Regions from separate parts of the Homo sapiens genome. Here region 2 is linked to region 1. Evidence: promoter capture Hi-C in human tissues and cell types (Jung and others, 2019). All regions are on one chromosome and are shown on one strand. Each heading gives the region's core, a stretch centred on a gene start or on the middle of the fragment in contact. The rest is flanking DNA. Distances are from core to core; before and after follow the strand shown. Region 1 overlaps ATF1 (activating transcription factor 1). Region 2 holds the start of POU6F1 (POU class 6 homeobox 1).

Region 1 (4,757 bases), core at 1,179-3,678:
TTGGGAGACACTTTGTACCCTTAAGCGATAGGATCGCTTGAGCCCAGGAGTTTGAGACCAATCTGAGCAACACAGTGAGACGCTATTGTTACAGGACAGGGTCCCAATCCAGACCCCAACAGAGGGTTCTTGGATCTCGCACAAGAAATAATGGGTCAAGTCCACAGTGTGAAGTAAAAGCAAGTTTATTAAGAAAGTAAAGGAATAAAAGAACGGCTACTCCATAGACAGAGCAGCCCCGAGGGCTGCTGGTTGTCCATTTTTATGGTTATTTGTCGATGATATGCTAAACAAGGGGTGGATTTTTCATGCCTCCCCTTTTTAAACCATACAGGGTAACTTCCTGACTTTGCCATGGCATTTGTGAACTGTCATGGCGCTGGTGGGAGCACAGCAGTGACGACGACCAGAGGTCACTCTCGTGGCCATTTTGGTTTTGGTGGGTTTTGGCCGGCTCCTTTACTGCAACTGTTTTATCATCAAGGTCTTTATGACCTGTATTTTGTGCTGACCTCCTATCTCATCCCGTGACTTAGAATGCCTTAATCATCTGGGAATGCAGGCCAGTAGGTTTTAGCCTCATTTTACCCAGCCTGTTTAAGATGGAGTTGCTCTGGTTCATACGCCTCTGACATTTCCCCCCGTCTAAGAGAACCCTTAATCCTAAGGGTTGCAGAGGGACGAAGATCCATCTTCTATAACTTCTTCAGGCTAAATAGGGCAATGATATTCCTGCCTGCCTATGAGGGTCTCTTGCATTCAGGGTAAAAAGGAGCTCAGTCAGAAAGCATCAGTATGGTAAGGTTCATTCATAACTCAAGTTTCAACAAAAGGTGGTATCTGGAAAATTAGTAAGAAAACGTTCAGTAAGCTTGTCCTGTATTCCTACACAAAAAGTATAACAGCAATATATTCCACAAGAGTAAAGCAAAATAGGCTGGGTACAGTGGCTCACACCTGTAATCCAGCACTTTGGGAGGCCGAGGCAGGTGGATTACCTGAGGTCAGGAGTTCGAGGCCAGCCTGGCCAACATGGTGAAACCCTATCTCTACTAAAAATATAAAAGTCAGCTGGGCGTTGTGATGTGTGCCTGTAATTCTAGCTACTTGGGAGGCTGAGGCAGGAGAATCACTTGAACCCAGGAGGCGGAGGCTGCAGTGAGCCAAGATGGTGTCACTGCAGTCCAGCCTGGGCGACAGAACAAGACTCTGTCTCAAAAAGAAAGAAAGAAAAAAAAAAGAGTAAAGCAAAATAAGTAAAGTTATTCCAAATAAACTAAATTAGAAGACTTTTCATGAACCAGGCAACCACTGGAACTAAGCTGATATCGGGTTGTTAGCTGATTGTAATGTGCCCAGAATCAGAATACTGATCCAGATTTTTAAATTACCCATCCCTCTTATTTCTTCTGAGCAACAATTAGAGATTACTGGTTGGTTTACAAGAATACGCAGGGTTAGCCTAAATTGCAGAAACAAACTTAAAAACAATTAATGAGACCAGAATTTAATAACAAGTGTACCATAGTTTTTGAAACATAGTATTTCTCTCTCCAGTTTCCCATTTTTACTAAAGACAAATTATGGTAAGACTGACTTGCTTTATTATACTTGGCCTGATTGTTTGTATAAAGTGCAGCAAGAATAATAATTTTTCACATAGGCTTTTTAATTGGCTTTGATGGAACTCTGTTTCATAAGGAATCTCAGATAAGACTTTTTTAAAAGCCAAGCCCTGACATGGGTTTGTACCCTTAAATACCTATAACTTGGGTAAATTTCTCTCCTTTTGAGGTCCCAAGATAACTTGGGGCTCCTGGACAGGTGAGAAAGTGACATTCTTTACTTACCATAGGTCAGAAACCCTGTACAGGCACTGTGTAGGCAAGGTATGAGGCCAGTTCCCCAAAGGGCTTTTATTGGCTCTACAAGTCAAGTTTGATTCCTTAAAGAAAAGCACACCATTTCAGTCAAAGCCTTGGTAAAATAACCACTTTCTCCAATTGTATTCTGTTACAAAAGAAAACAGATTCTTATTGCACTTATGCAAATAATTACATTGCCATAAGTTAAGAATACTCACAACTAGTTTCCAAATTCTGGAGAAATCTGATATAGAGAAACAAATATGTTCCAAATTTCGTTCACAGCAGTATACTTTACTCAATTGCTATGAACTGTAAATAGCTCAAATGAAAAGTTTCCTTGACTCTGAAAAACAAAACAAAGGATCAGCAACATTTTAATCAAAGATTACTTCAGTTTTCTATTGGTTCAGTTGATTCAATTAACTCATGTTTCATTTGATATTCATGAACATTCTAGCTCTTCATGAGTTCTGAAAGTTGTTTCCTCTATTCTAATGTTACAATTTCCAAAGTTATTAGAAACCTGCATTTAAGAACACCTGCTAGAGTTCTATAGCTGATTATAAATCATCTTCTAAACAGGATTAAAACAAGACAACAATTGTCTGTGGATGATAAAAAGTTTTAGGAGAGCCACTATTAAAGCCAGAAATGATAAGGAAATTTGGTTACTTCTGTGGCACACAATATTTTGCATAACAATTATAATTATTAATAACATACACTAAATCATATTAGAATTATAGGAGTTTCCCATAACTTTGGAACATATACCAATAATACAGTTATGTAAATATAATCCAAAGAAAGCAAAACACCATTTGACATTTGATAATGCTTCCTGTATGAATTTTTTTTTTTTTTGAGATGGAGTCTCGCTCTGTCACCCAGGCTGGATAGAGTGCAGTGGTGCAATCTCAGATCACTGCAACCTCCCCCTCCCAGGTTCAAGCGCTTCTCCTGCCTCAGCCTCGAGTAGCTGTGACTACAGGTGTGCGCCACCATGCCCGGCTAACTTTTGTATTTTTTGATAGAGATGGGGTTTCACCATGTTGGCCAGACTGGTCTCAAACTCCTAACCTCAGGTGATCCATCTGCCTCGACCTCCCTAAGTGCTGGGATTACAGGTTTGAGCCACTGTGCCCGGCCAACTTAGAATAATTATTTAACTCTTTAGCCAAAAAACCCCACATTTCCATGCCTTCTTATAATCTTTTACCAAAAGTACATTCTATTTTCCTTACTACACACCTTACATGTAAAACTGTCTCTTCAATAGTCTCAGTTACATGTTCCAATTTTAACTTTTAGCGACTTTTACTTTTGGTGAAAACCCTGGTTAGTAAGCAATTTTAATTATGTACTAGGTGTGGAGCCTAGCCTAGGACACACCAGGCAGAAGTGCAGATAAGAGCTGACTCTCCAGCACAGCTTAGGGGCGTGGCTAACTCCACATGTCCCCAGGCCTTATCTAGAATCTAATGGCTTTAAGGTAGGGTAAATTGAACAATTTTTAAAAGTCAAAGAAACAGTTTATGACCTCAAATCATTTAACAAACTTAATATCTGACCTGCATAATTAAGATTAACATTTTTATCAATTTTAAAGATGTGTTTATTTCCTAAAGATTACTAAAGTTACATGAACTAAAAGGCATTAGTTATTTTGCTTTCAAAATATTTGATTTAAATGTTTATTTTTGTTTAAGCTGATTAATCAGAGCTCTTTTATATAAATATTACACACGACACCTATATAGCTACACAGAAAGACAGATGATGATGATAACAGTGGTTGTAAGATTTTTCATTTGCCAGTTTTTAAGTTTCTTAATTGGATTACCGGCTTCAGGGTGGAGCCCTTGGAAGAACAGGGCCACGAAAGGGGTCTCTGGTGCCTCTTGTTTTTCCCAAGGAGTCCAGGCTGTTAGAGCTTGAATATCCACTTTTAATTAAACTTATTTTAACCATAGCACTCTTTAATAAAGTCCTTTTAGAAGTTTTTATGCCAAACGGCTGGTATTTCTGGCTTTTGAATTTTATCAAAGGTAACCTCCCAGGTGCTTAGAAAAAGGAAAATATAAGACAGTTCACAGAGGAGAAGAGAATAGACAAAGTCATGCAGATATTAAACCAGAAACGACTTACTTCCTAGGTGGGTAATTGAACCTGGACTGTTGCCACGGAAGTGCAAAAGCTGGCTGGGTGCGGTGGCTCATGCCTGTAATCCCATCAGTTTAGGAGGCTGAGGCAGGTGGATCACCTGAGGTCAGGAGTTCGAGACCAGCCTGCCCAATATGATGAAACCCCATCTCTACTAAAAATACAAAAATTAGCTGGGCGTAGTGGCACACACCTGTAATCCCAGCTACTTGGGAAGATGACGCAGGCAAATCACTTGAACTCGGGAGGCGGAGGTTGCAGTGAGCTGAGATCGCACCACTGCACTCCAGCCTGGGCGACAGAGCAAGACTCCATCTCAAAAAAAAAAAAAAAGAAAGTGCAAAAGCTTAGCTACTGAGCTACAGCACAGGGCAGTCTCTGTTGACCTTCCCAGAAGGAGTCTAGAGTAGTTAATTTTGAGCTTATAAGGGCTTTTAACTATTTAATATTATTTTTAGAGCTAACTATGACATGAATCCTGAAATTCCTGTTCTCTGAAGGTGGGGACCAAAAGAAAGTACCACCACATGGTTAAAAGGTCAAGCTCCCAAGGACGTAAAACAAGGTGGAGACTTCATCCAGTCTTTTATTTGTTACAGGGACCTGCAGCCAAGTATCTTACTGACCAGCTTGCTGGGTCATCTTGAAAAGCGAGCTTACAGGTGTTCTTTTTTTTCTTTTTTTGAGATGGACATGGAGTCTCGCTCTGTTGCCAGGCTGGAGTGC
Region 2 (4,757 bases), core at 585-3,084, 450 kb before region 1:
CATACACGTACATATGTATACACACATACATACACGTACATATGTATATACATGTAAAAATTTATCAAGGTATACACATACTGTGTACATGTTATGCCCCAATAAACACAGAAACAAAAAGTAATATATGCTCATCAAATATTTAAGCAATGCAGAAGTGTATACAACATAAAGAAAACCGTGATTAACATTTTTATGTATGTCTCCCTGAACTCCTCTGATCACATCCATATTTCTTTCTTCAAACTGTCGCTGATATCCATGCTATCCAAAGCCTTTGATCTATGTGTAGCACCAAACCAAGTGACATAAATGAAAAGTTTCAACCTTCATGTGACAAAGTTCAGCAGCAATACTGAGCCCCTCCTTCACATAAAGAGTAGTGGGAAATACAAACATGAGTAAGTCACAACCAGTGCTCTCAAAGAATTCACAGTCCAGGGAGAGAAACTACAGGGACTACCGGCCAAACAAAAACCCCAAGAACTGTAATATCAAGCCACGCAGTAGAGTTTCACAGGGCCATTAAAACGAGTTCAAACTATTGTACAAGGAATGACACCTTACAGTTGTATAGAGCTTGCAGCTTTCAGTTTTTTCACATACAGGCTCACAAACTTAACCCTATGAAGTAGTCATTATAAATGTCATTATAAATATTATCCTTGTTTTATAAGTAATGAAGAAGTTAAATTACTTGCCTGGACGGCTAGTGGAAGAGTTGGGACTAAAACCTAAGTATTCTGACTCCTAATACATTGGTTACTCATAAATCCGCCGCCAGCAGTACCTGCTCACTTCCAGATGGAAACAGCAAGCTGATAACAGCCTAGTCCACTGGCCAGGTTAACGACGAGGCCGGGCCATTCAATGCCCTTCCACCACGAGGCCTTACGGAGCAGTCCCGGGGAGGACTGAGGCCTCCAACTGCATTCTCACACTGCCTCTAACCCATCTACCTCTAGCTATCCTCAGACCACCAAATATCGGGAGAGGGTGGGAGGGGGAACAGCCTAGGATGACAGCAGGTGGCCTCAGTATTGGGATCCACATTCACTGGATTTACAGAGCCTCCTTCCTTCCCAGTTCTTCTCTCCATTCCCACGCTTCCACTTTGGTCTTCCAACTTTTTCCTCTTTCAGTTGTCCACCACTTCTCCAATCTGCTTTCCCTCAGCCACCCACATCCACCCCTTTTCTGGTCCCCTCTCTACCTTAAGAAGCTGCTAGAGGTTTTTCACCATTCCACTGAACTTTGTCTTTCTGTTCACATTTCCTTGTCTACTTGGACAAGAAGGCCGGAAATCTGCTTTTAGACAACACAGCCCACGGCCGCCACCGGGTGAGAGACCTGGGACCCTTCGCTGCTTTGGCGCTGGGGCACAGCTGTTCAGAGGTTCTCCACGTTGGCTGAGCGATGTCTGAGTTCCCCCGCCTTTCTAGGGAGGGAGGGATAGACATAAACTTGACTTTCAACATTGAGGACAGTTGACTACCTAGAGGAAAGGCGGTGGCCGGGAGTCACCGCCCCAACCCTCAGCTGAAGGCCATGTGGCATGGAGGGTCCGGACTCCAGCTCCTACTCTGGCACCTTCCGAAATGAAACCACCTCCGCGGCACCTCGGAGGGGCTGAGTAACCAGACCCACTGACCGTCCATCCCTGTCCCGGGAGAGAGCCTCCGGGACCTCCCGCTCGGCCAGGGCCAGAGGGTCCCCTCCCCACCCCCACCCCTCGCTCCTGGCTCCCGTGCTCCCCTCCCTTCCCTGACCGCCCTCCCAGCCCGCCGCCCCCGGCGGCTGGCGCGGGCGGTGCAGCATGCGGCAAAGCTCTTTGCATAAATTATGCTCATGACGCAGCAGCTAAAAAAATCCAAGTAGCAGAAGGAGGGAAAAAAGGGGGGGAGGGAAAAGGGGGGGGTCGTGGAAGGGGGAACGAAGAAAAATATATACCTGACCGCCCCCCCACCCGGCTTCCCCTTCCCGCTTCCCGGCCGTCCCCTCTCCGCCCGGCTTAGCCTGCGGAGCCCCCTTCGGCTCTGCCCAGCCCAGGCTGGGGGCCTGGGGGCGGCGGCGGGTCCCGACCAGCTCCCGGGCCGAGCCGAGCCCAGCCAAGCCGCACTGGCTTCTTTGTCTGCGGGCGGCGGCCGCCGTGGCCCCGGCCCCGGCCCCGGCCCCCTGGCCCGGGCTGTGAGATGAATCTCTAATCGGTGGCCGCCAGACACCCGCGGCGAAGGCGGCTCGGGCTCGGGCTCCGGTAAGTAGCGGGGTCCGGGGCGGGGAGGGGTTTGCACGGAGGGGGAGGGGGCCGGGCAGGGGAGGTTTCGGGTTTGGTTAATATGCAATGCCCGTAATTAGCATAATTTATATATTTATGATAAAGAGAAAAAAAGCCGCGGGGCCGGGGCGGCGGGATGCTGGGCCGGGGCGGCGGGGAGCTGCGGGAGCGGGACAGCGCGCGGTTGCCCAGCTGGGGCTAGACACCCGGGGGCCGCGCCCTCGCCCGCCCGCGGGCCGCTCTGGACCTGGAGCGGAGGGGGCGGCCGCCAGGTGGACCCGGTGGGGAACCCCGACCTGGCCCCTCCCCGTTTCTGCCCCTGGAGCCCTTGTGGGGTGCGGACCACAGGGGACGCTCTGTACACAGAACCAGTGGCGACCAGAAGCGGATCCTTGCCTCTCTGGAGAACACGGACGCCTGGGTTCCCGGCGGTTAGGGCCAGCTGGGGCGGCCAGGGTGACCTGTCACGGTTCTCCCGAATGAACAAACTCCGGGACGACCGGTGGGACCCGGGGGTAGGGACCCAGGCGTTGCTGGAAGGGTGGGTCAGTGATGGGAGGGCCACCTTCTAGCAGAGCATGAGCACTTCATAAATATTTAATATCGATATTATTATTAATAAATAGTCATAATAATGGGCCCGATGCAGGCTCCCTGGGCAGGCTCACCTGGCAAGGCCAAGGGAGCTCCCAGCATACCCTCTAACCTCCACTTTCGCGGCAGAATACCCCACTCAGCCCGACTGGAAGCCTAAAACCTTCACAGAATAGCCTCTGCGGCTGGGCAGGGGGAAATCAGAAGAGTTCGGGAAGCATTCCTGGGCCAAAGAAAAGAGGCTCTTTGCAGAGATTTTTAACCTCATCTGCCCTTCCCAAATTCCTTGTTCCAAAAGTAGAGGGCTGGTCTTCAATTGTTCATATACATGTGTCCCATGCCCCTTATTTAGCAATCTAAGGCAGCCACCATTGACTGGCAGAGGCCTTCTGAGGAATAATTCCATATATTCCATTTTCATTCAAGTCCTGGTCCTCAAAGTGATACTTCTGTGACCTGGTACTCCGCTTATCTGCTGTAGAACTTCATTTCTTCATTAGTTCAACAAAAATACCCACTCAGTGCCATGCTCTGAACAATTCAGACAAAACTTCTATCATGGAGTTTTTATTCTGGGGGTGGACAAGTAGATGCTAAACATTAAAACTAACAAGGTAATACCATAGAGTGATTGTGTGTCAGTGTGTGTGTATGTAGCCATTTATTCTGTTTTGTTCCTGGAAGTACTAGCTGGCAGTTAAGAAAAGTGACTCAGAAAAAATTTGCTCCTGTAAGGTTTTTCTGCATTTTGAAGGAACTTGGGATAAGCTCATATTCTTGTCCCCAAGATTTACTCACCATAAAATTATCAGAGTAATCTTTTACATTTTCTTTTTTTTGAGACAGAGTCTAGCTGATTTTTTTGTATCTTAGTAGAGATGGGGTTTCACCGTGTTGCCCAGGCTGGTCTCGAACTCCTTAGCTCAGGCAATCCAACCGTCTTGGCCTCCCAAAGTGCTGGGATTACAGGCGTGAGCCACCGTGCCTGGCCATCTTTTACATTTTTAAAATGCTTTATAATTTAAAACATTTTTATATGCATGCTTTACTTCAGTTCAAAATAATAGCAATGATAATAACAAACATATATATAGTGTTTGCTTCATGCTAGGCCCTGTTTTAAGTGCCTTCCATAAATATTATCAATTTAATCCTCACAATAACCCATGAGGTGGTTACTATAATTTGGTTCCATTTTGGATAAGGAAACGGAGGCTTATAGGGATTACCTCTAGTAGAAGCAGTACTCAAGCTGGGTCTTCTGCCTTTAAACCTGCCTTTGACCCCTCATGTCAAAATGAGGGTTCATGAGGCAGAAGAGAGAGTGGGATGCAGGAGAAACTGGCCACAGGAGGAAGGCTTGGAATGAGAAATTAGACGGGCGCTTTAGGAAGGGGCCAGTGTGGTCTGGGTTCTCCAGAACCCAATACTACACCTTGGAAATCTCTCTTTTTTTTTTTTTTTTTTTTTTGAGACAGGGTTTCACTCTGTCGCTCAGTCTGGAGTGCAGTGGCGCGATCTTGGTCTCACTGCAACCTCCACCTCCCGGGTTCAAGCAATTCTCCCACCTCGGCCTCCCAACTAGCTGGAACTATAGGCGCACACCACCATGCCTGGCTAATTTTTGTATTTTCAGTAGAGACGGGGTTTCACCATGTTGGCCAAGCTGGTCTTGAACTTCTGACCTCAAGTAATCCGCCCGCCTCGGCCTCCCAAAGTGCTAGGATTACAGACGTGAACCACCACACCCGGCCTGTACCACGTCTTTGAAATCATTTTTAAGTAGCCCCAGTACTGGAAATGGAGGCAAAACATTTGAAGTAGGGTGTGTGTTTTGAGGGAAAAGGTAGGAAATAATAAGAGGCTAAGTGATGTGGCTATGACGTGA

Evidence for each region. The method cuts DNA at HindIII sites, captures the fragments that hold promoters and counts their contacts. A contact is called where the count stands out against the background at its distance.
Region 2: the fragment with the promoter of POU6F1 here is called in contact with a fragment that was not itself captured in region 1 in 1 of the 25 tissues and cell types used here (aorta).

What each region holds. Positions count from the first base shown.
Region 1 is chr12:50,767,483-50,772,239 of GRCh38, reverse strand. The region is part of intron 1 of ATF1 (activating transcription factor 1); the gene reads right to left. Among named protein-coding and RNA genes, the nearest start is that of ATF1, 5.8 kb to the right of the region's middle. RefSeq lists enhancers at 2,332-2,832, 2,833-3,333. The HindIII fragment of the contact is 6,244 bases long and covers 1-4,757 here.
Region 2 is chr12:51,215,139-51,219,895 of GRCh38, reverse strand. It overlaps POU6F1 (POU class 6 homeobox 1), which reads left to right and starts at 1,834. Exons shown (of 11, transcript NM_001330422.2): 1 at 1,834-2,254. RefSeq lists an enhancer at 1,451-1,510 and silencers at 1,661-1,810, 2,011-2,170, 2,401-2,660. The HindIII fragment of the contact is 30,817 bases long and covers 1-4,757 here.